3 separate regions of the Homo sapiens genome follow, and regions 1 and 3 are each linked to region 2. Evidence: promoter capture Hi-C in human tissues and cell types (Jung and others, 2019). All regions are on one chromosome and are shown on one strand. Each heading gives the region's core, a stretch centred on a gene start or on the middle of the fragment in contact. The rest is flanking DNA. Distances are from core to core; before and after follow the strand shown. Region 1 overlaps SUSD1 (sushi domain containing 1). Region 2 holds the start of PTBP3 (polypyrimidine tract binding protein 3). Region 3 overlaps SUSD1 (sushi domain containing 1).

What was found. Contacts are between HindIII fragments. The study calls those that stand out against the background at their distance.
Region 1: a fragment that was not itself captured here is called in contact with the fragment with the promoter of PTBP3 in region 2 in 1 of the 25 tissues and cell types used here (dorsolateral prefrontal cortex).
Region 3: a contact is called between a fragment that was not itself captured here and the fragment with the promoter of PTBP3 in region 2, in 1 of the 25 tissues and cell types used here (stomach).

The regions. Positions count from the first base shown.
Region 1 is chr9:112,071,046-112,073,745 of GRCh38, reverse strand. All of the region lies in intron 12 of SUSD1 (sushi domain containing 1), which reads left to right. Among named protein-coding and RNA genes, the nearest start is that of LINC02977, 32 kb to the right of the region's middle. RefSeq lists an enhancer at 1-30. The HindIII fragment of the contact is 3,705 bases long and covers 1-2,700 here.
Region 2 is chr9:112,332,217-112,334,926 of GRCh38, reverse strand. It overlaps PTBP3 (polypyrimidine tract binding protein 3), which reads left to right and starts at 1,308. Exons shown (of 14, transcript NM_001163788.4): 1 at 1,308-1,457. RefSeq lists an enhancer at 264-1,234 and silencers at 984-1,303, 1,454-1,943. The HindIII fragment of the contact is 19,118 bases long and covers 1-2,710 here.
Region 3 is chr9:112,042,369-112,045,290 of GRCh38, reverse strand. All of the region lies in intron 15 of SUSD1 (sushi domain containing 1), which reads left to right. Among named protein-coding and RNA genes, the nearest start is that of LINC02977, 3.4 kb to the right of the region's middle. RefSeq lists enhancers at 2,660-2,729, 2,820-2,869. The HindIII fragment of the contact is 6,855 bases long and covers 1-2,922 here.

The DNA.
Region 1 (2,700 bases), core at 184-2,683, 260 kb after region 2:
AATTTTAAAAATATATTTTTAGTAGAGATGAGGTTTTGCCATGTTGTCCAGGCTGGTCTCAAACTCCTGACCTCAAGTGATCTGCCTGCCCTTAGCCTCTCAAAGTGCTGGGATTACAGGCATGAGCCACTGTCCAGCTGAGTATGCTATTTTCTTGCTAAGTCTAAAAGCTTTGTAGGCAACATTTTCTTATATAGAGAGAGAAAGAGGAAACCAGAGAGAGGAGGATGGGGGTGGGTGGGGGCGGGGTGGGGAAGAGAGAGAAAGAGAGAGAGAGAGAGTGAGCGTGAGAAAGCCAATACATACGTAAATGTGGAGATAAACCAGACCACTTGTCTTACACAACATGGTGATCATTTGAGATGGAATGTTTATTATGGAACCAAGCATGCTGGAGGAGCAAAGGGAAGAAAAGATGAAAAGGAAATTATTTATTCCCATGTCTTCAGTACCAAGGCTGGCAACTTCTTCAAGAAATTTCCCATCTCTCATTGTATTCATAACAAGAAAAAGGAAAGTACTTTTTCAGACGGTTAGGAAAACAACAGAAAACACAGGAGTGTCCCAGGCATTTATCAGATTGTCACTTTATCAGAGAGGTCCAGCCAGGACTGCCCTGATCCTCCCTGCCCCTGCCTCTGACACCGCCCTCCACAATGGGATGTCCTCAGGGAAGACTGTGCAGGACTAGGTCTCTTGGTTTCTTTTACCGAGGCTTCTCTTTCATGGTTGGTTACCCACAAACCATCCAAGGATGCTGTACCCCTGTGTCCTCAGTGAGAAACCCATCTCCCCTGGCTGGTTCCAAGGTACCACACTTATCCCTGGGGGCCCCCCTGGCTCCAAGGGGGCTGAAGCTGTACCACAGGTCAGCAGAGGGACTGGCCTTCATGCCAGCTGTTTTCCTTTCCAAGTCTTCCGTGGACACAGGCTCTTTTGATATCTGGAGCCCTAACATTAGGTCACGCTAGGAGAGGCATGTTTGCCCTTCCATGCTTCCACAGTCCACGTATTTCTCTCATTCCCAGAAATCTCCCAACTGCTTTCTAGCTTCAAAACAAACCCCAAGCCCCCAAGTAAATGGCTGTGTGGGGATGGGTGTCTCCCAGACCCTCTTGCTACCAGCATCTGAATCTCAGCCAAAGTTAGCTTTTATAAAACGTGCATGAGAAGGTATTCTTAGATCAGAAGCCTGGAAACTAGGGTTTCTGTGTGTGTTGGGAGAGGGGGAGGGGCTTGCTGAGCTGTAACAATTTAATTTAGCAAATATTTATTTATTTACTTGTATTTGTTAAAAATGAGATGGGTTGGCCAGGCACGGTGGCTCATGCCTGTAATCCCATCCCAGCACTTTTGGAAGCTGAGGTGGGTGAGTTCGAGACCAGCCTGGCCAACATGGTGAAACCCAGTCTCTACTAAAAATACAAAAATTAGCTGGGTGTGGTGTGGGTGCTTGTAATCCCACCTACCTGGGAGGCTGAGGCAGGAGAATCTCCTGAACCCGGGAGGCAGAGTTGCAGTGAGCTGAGATTGTGCCACTGCAGTCCAGCCTAGACAACAGAGTGAGACTCCGTCTCAAAAAAAAAAACAAAAAAAAAAAAAAAAGAGAAAGAAAGAAATAAAAAAGAATAAAAATAAATAAATAATAAAAGGAGATGTCTTGAGAAGTCACTAGCAAATATTTTTCGATTGGTTATGTACAAAGACCTGTGCTGCCTACTGAGGATGTACATGTGAAAAGAAATTGGTTTCTTCTCCTTGGGAGGTGAAGTCTCATAACTTTATTGATGGAGAAGATATATCTAGCTGATGACTTGTAGTGGAAGACACTATTTTTTCTGTTGCCTTCAATTTTAATTTACCATGCCTTGGATGGGATGATATATCTGGAGAGGTGCCTGAGGATTAGAAAAGAACCATCATGCTGTGTTTATTTTTCTACCTACTTTTTATTATAGAAAATCCAGAAAAGTAGCATTGTACTGGGTTTTTGGGCGGTGGAGTTGTGTTTTAATTCAATTGTTTGTGTTTACTTGAAGTTTGCAGTACAAAGTTGGAGACGTTGCTTAGTTTTGATGCAGATAAAATTTTCTTCCATTTTTGGTTCTTTTTGTTCATTTTGATGGGTTTTACATAGAGACATTTTAACACATTTGTACTTATACTACCCTTTTTCTTTGGTTGATTTAATAGTTTACCTTCATTAGTGATATTAATATTTTGATAAATATTACAAATTCCTACTCCAAGGCTATTTACTCTTTTGTTTTCTTTTCAATTTTTTTTGAGACTGAGTTTCATTATGTTGCCCTGGCTGGAGTGCTGTGGCACAATCATAGCTTACTGCAGCCTCAAACTCCTGGGCTCAAGCAGTCCTCCTGCCTCAGCCTCCCAAGTAGCTGAGACTACAGGTGCATGTCACCACACCCTGCTAATTTTTTCTTTTTGTAAAGATGAGGTCTTACTATGTTGCCCAGGCTGGTCTCAAACTCCTGAGCCCAAGCAATCATTTTTGCCTAGGCCTCCCAAAAAGCCAGGATTATAGGTGGGAGCCACTGCACCTGACCTACTTTTTTGCACTTAAAATTTAGTTTCAGGCTGGGCACAGTGGCACATTCCTATAATTCCAGCGCTCTAGGAGGCTGAGGAGAGAGGACTGCTTGAGTCCAGGAGTTCAAAGCTGCAGTGAACTATGATCAT
Region 2 (2,710 bases), core at 59-2,558:
TGAGGTTAGATACAGGACTTTAAGAATTACCTCACCGAATTACTCTACCTATTTGAAAAGTTGTATGTCAAAAATATACATAAACGGACTGAAGAATCCATTCAACAGTGACGGCTGGAACCTGATTTTCTTGTGTATTCATGCAGTGCCCGGCACATAGTAGGTTAATACTGACTGAATGATGAATGAGTCCACAGTTTAGATCTTTTTAGCAGCACCTACTGATCTGAAAGCAGGAAATTAGCAAGGATAGATGTTTGAGGTTCTTGTTAGTTGCTTTTCAAATGACGAAGCCACGGGGAGGAGCCCCGCTCTTTTTTACTCAGTAGGTTAAGAATTTGGCTTAACAGTTTAGGGGGTTACATTTTGGTGATCTGTGAGTTGAAAAAGTACTCAATTTCTCACTAAAAAGGGAAAAAAGCAAGCGTGTTGTCACTCGTTATATTATATATATACTTTTTGCTCAGACCAGAGGGAAGGGCTCTGGTGCAAACGTTTCCTGGTTGTGAAACTGTGAGCAAATCACTCTCTTTGTATATGTATTTTCATCTGAAAAAAGGGAATAATGAGTAAACTTTTAAAAAATGCTGGGAATATAGCCATTCCATGTTTGTACAATGAATTTTTCATATAAATTCAATACTAGACGGTTAGGTCGAAATGCACTCAGATACTTAAATTGTATACAAATTCCAGTCCGGGCAGCCTCTTTCACCTCATTCATCGTCCCAGCCACACCTATGGGGCTGGTGTCGGTCCCAGCGGTCGACTCCAGCGCCGGGCTGCCAGAGGCTGGTCCCTGGACGTGTCATCTACAGCCTCGCGCACCCGGGGCAATTCCACCTCGTTTCTGGGGTCCTTGTGGGACATTCCTTCCTACTCTTGGGAGTCAGGTCCCCATAGCTTTTCCTGCCGGCAGAGGGAGGCATTCAAACCTGGCAGGCCCGGTCTGCGAAGCCGGAAGGCCCGCGGGGCCGCGGGAGGGCGGGCGGGGTGCGCGGCGGAGCGGGAAGCACAAGGCGCGCGCTCCCGCGAACGCAGGAGGGAGGCTGGGGGCGCGCGCGCGCGCCGGGCCGAGGGGCCGAGAGGCGGGGTCTTACAGCGACCGCGGGAAGAGGGCGCCCCAGAGCTGAGCCGGAGGCCGGCTGCCAGCGGGGCGAGGGTGGGCGCGAGCGCAGGGGCGGGCCCCGAGGGAGGGCGGGGACGGTGAGGGGGCGGGGTCGGGCTAGGCGGGGACGCGCTCGCGGGGTGGGGAAGGCGGGGGCGCGGCGGTGGCGGGAGCGTGCCCGGTCCCCGCCCCTGTTCCCACTCTCCTTCCACCTCGGACCGGCCGGGGCTCCGCAGAGCCAAAGCTCGCTTGTCCCCGGAACCGCCCTGCTGCCGCCGCCTGCTTCCTCTGCTCGCGGTTAGCCCGTCAGTCCCTGCTCTGTGCGCGCCTCCATCTGGGCCATGGATGGGTAAGTACTAGGCGGCGCGGCGGCCGCACCGGGTTGCCTTGGCGCCGCTTCCACCCGGCTCTCCGCGGGACGCGTAAGGGCTGGGGAGCAGTGCGCGGCGCCGGCGGCCGGAGGAGCGGCCCCGGCCAAGCCCGACGGCGGGGCTTCCGGGCGTCTCGGTGGGGATCCCGGAATCGCGGAGTTGCCGTCCGCCGCAGGCTCTCCTTTCCCCACGCGGCGCCCCGGACACGTCCGCTGCTTCCTAGCCTTACTCGACACACCCGGGAGCAGAGGAAAGCCCGGTCCGGCCGCGGTGCCGAGGTCCGCCCTCCGCGCCCCGAGTCCGGGGAGCCCAGCTCGGCCTCCCGACACTTCCTCTCAGAAAATGGTGCGCGGCGCTGGGGGAGGCGGAGGCGGCGCGCGGGGCGGGCGTCCTCCTGCCGGGGGAGTTGCTGTTTACCGGCGAGGTGGGGCGAGCGGCCGACGGCGGGTGCACGCGTCGGTACACGTCTGGGCGGCGACCTGGTCGCAAGCCATGGTCCCACGCGGGGTCCCAGGGCCGCCGCGGGACTTGGCCGAGGTCTCCCGACTTGTGCTGTGAGATACGTTAACGCTTTCTCGACACCAGGGGTCTGGACTTAGTGACCATGGACGCTTCCCCCTCACCTTTCTCTCTCCCCAAGAAACTTAATGAATTATCTGCCCGTGTATGTAAAATATGATGTACGAGCGATTTTCGGGGGCATTTCAAATGCTCAAAAATTTAATGGGGGTCCGTGACCAAAATAAAAAGATTTAGAGTCTATGTATATAAACTGTTCTCTGGGGACTCAGGGATATGGGGTGGGACTTGACATATTTTGGTAATTAAAGTAACAACTATGTTAGGATTTTGGTGAATTAATTGAAGGTTGTAGTATCTGTACCTACGGATTAAAAAAAAATCTCCAACTCGGTTTATTCCCATTATGTATTTGAGGTTTTTTTTAGCTTGTTACCTACTTTTGATGACAAGATTTCTGTGAGGTTGTGGAATATATGCAACTTGCTAGAACAGTAAAAGTCGTTCACATGTTGCCATACAGTTGATGATATGCTATTTGAAGATGAAATCTTCCAACAGCTTTTGACCTCATTAGATTTCATTTATTTTAGTTTCACAATATTAAGTGTATATGACATTTCGGATTGATTCATTTGAATGCAGATTGCACACTGCTACAGACATCAAAGTGGAGTTTTAGATTTTATTCATGATTGTGATGTTCTTTATT
Region 3 (2,922 bases), core at 3-2,502, 290 kb after region 2:
TAGAGGAAAAAATACACAGAAAAAAACTTGATGTCAGAAGTTGGAAGGAATACTGGGTAGATCGGATGAAATGCCAGTGCAGTAAAGTACCAGCTCCCCCGTTCATCTCCAGAATTGTATTTTCTCTTAAAAACAAAACAAAACAAAACAAATCTAGTTAATTAGTCCACCAAGATGGCATTTAAAAAAATGTTTCTGAGTCATGCACAAAGATGGCATCTTAATGCCTTAATTTGCATTTTTATTACTTGTAAGAGAGCATTTGCTCAAAGTTTTATTGATCATCTGTAATCATGTTTTTCATGTGATTTACCTTTTCGTAGAATTTTCTCATTTCGCTATTGAGGTATGTCTTTATTAATCTGTAACACTCTCTGTATGTTAACTTCTTGCCCATTATTCTAGATATTTTATCCAGCTTGCCATTTGCCTTTTAATCTTGCTTATGGTAGTTTTTGGTATAAGAAGTGCATGCTTTTTAAAGTGGTTAAATCTCTCATTCTCTTAAGGTTTCTGTGTTAACGAATATGCTTAGAAATTTCTTACCCCCTTTAATATTAGGTAAATATTCACTAACATTTCCTAATCCTTTTAGGTTTCAATTTAAGTCTGTAATCCATCTGGATTTTATTTTGATATATGGTGTAAGCTCTAGTGATCAAAATTATTTGATTCTAAATGGTTAGCCAATTTTCTCAGCACTGGTTATGAAAAATTTATCATTTCCCCAATGATCTGAAACAGTATCAAAACAACAAAAACAATAATAATTAACAATAGCTAACATTTGCTTATTGCTTATTCTGTGCCAGGCACTGTTTCAACCTGTACTAACTCACTGACTTCTCCCACTACCTAGAGGTGGGTAGTATTGCTATCATTCCCATGTTATTACAGCATCCCTCAGTGTGGGGACTGAGACACAGAATGGATGAATAACTTGCACAAAGTCACACAGGCAGTGGTGGTGTTCAGATAAAGACTTGGACATCTGACTCCAGTATTCAAACTTTGAAAGTATTTGATATGCTTGGATTTGTTTCTAGGCTATTTTGTTCCAATGTATTCATTCCTATTCTAATACTGCACTGTTTTACTGTCTTGCAATTCAAGTCACTCTCCTAATATTTTTTCTTTACTAATTCTTCACTTAATCACTGTTTCTCCTTCCATTTTATAATCTAGTTTCTTGGCTGGGCATGGTGGCTCATGCCTATAATTCTAGCACTTTGGGAGGCCAAGATGGGCAGATCGCCTGAGGTCAAGAGTTCGAGACCAGCCTGGCCAACATGGTGAAGCCCTGTCTCTACTAAAATACAAAAACTAGCCGGGCGTGGTGGAGTACACCTGTAGTCCCAGCTACTAGGGAGACTGGGGCAGGAGAATCGCTTGAATCCGGGAGGTGGAGGTTGCAGTGAGCCGAGATCATGCCACTGCACTCCAGCCTGGGTGACAGAGCAAGACTCTGTCTCAAAAAATAATAATAAATAAAAATAAAATAAAACAAAATAAGTAATCTAGCTTCTTAAAGTGTCAAGGCCATTTTTCTTCTATAGACTAAAAGCAACCAAATAATATAAGCCATGTTTTCTAGAAAGGCTCTTGGCAGCATTTTTTGAGAATTAGTAACCGCCCAATGAGTTTTCCTTGCCTGCTGCCTAGACAGAGCTGATTTATCAAGACAGAGGAATTGCAATAAAGAGCTTAATTCACACAGAGCCAACTGTATGGGAGACTGGAGTTTTATTATTACTCAAATCAGTCTCCCTGAAAATTCAGGGATGGGGTTTTTAAGGATTACTTAGTGGGTAGGGGGTAGGGGATGGGGGGGTCAGTGAGTCAGAAGTGCTGATTGGTTGGGTTGGAGATGAAATCACAGAGTCGAAGCTGTCCTCTTGCACTGAGTCAATTTCTGGTTGGGGGCCACAAGATCAGATGAACCAGTTTATGGATCTGGGTGATGCCAGCCGATCCATGGAGTGCAGGGTCTGGAAAATATCTCAAGCACTGATCTTAGGTTTTACAATAGTGATGTTAGCCCTAGGAGCAATTTGAGCAGTTCAGAATCTTGCAGCTTCCAGCTGTAGGACCCCTAAACCATAATTTCTAATCTCATGGCTAATTTGTTAGTCTTGCAAAGGCAGTCTAGTCCCCAGACAGGATGGGGATTTGTTTGGGGAAAGGGCTATTATCGTCTTTGTTTCAAAGTTAAACTATAAACTGAGTTCCTCCCAAAGTTAGTTCAGCCTACGCCCAGGAATGAACAGGGGCAACTTGGAGGTTAGAAGCAAGATGGAGTCAGTCAGGTCAGATCTTTTTCACGGTTATAATTTTCTCGGTTATAATTTTTAAAAAGGCGGTTTCAAGTTCTGCAGGGCTGTTTAACACAAGGTGTATTCTATGGCTGGTTTTACTAGTGCCAGGTACTGTACTGAGTTTCCAATAGAAATGCACTCCTCTTAACCTGGCTGTAAAGACCTGAGTTGTACTTAGCCACTCCCACCTTGGTTCCTTAAGGGAATAATAATAGTACCCAATGTGAAGGCTGGTTAGAAGCCTAAATGAGTGAATATTTGTGAGGTGCTTGGAACAGTGTCTGGCACATAGTAAGTGCTAAGTAAGTGTTTGCAAATTAAAATGAAATTTTTGCTCTAATCTAGAACATGATTCTCTAAGTCAGTCACTTGGCCCACATGTGCAACTCAACTGTGAGTGTTTTTTAGTTTATAATCGGGGATCTCCCTGGAGTTGGCATGTGATGGTCCCCAAATAGAAAGTATGTCTTTCAAAGTACTTTTATCCTCTCAGTAAACCTGCTGACCTGAGCAGGGAAGTATGACCCTTGTTGAGGTATGGAGAAAATGACAGGTGACTCAACAAAGGATATTCCTTTGCTCTATCTGACCATCAGGGCTATCAGTT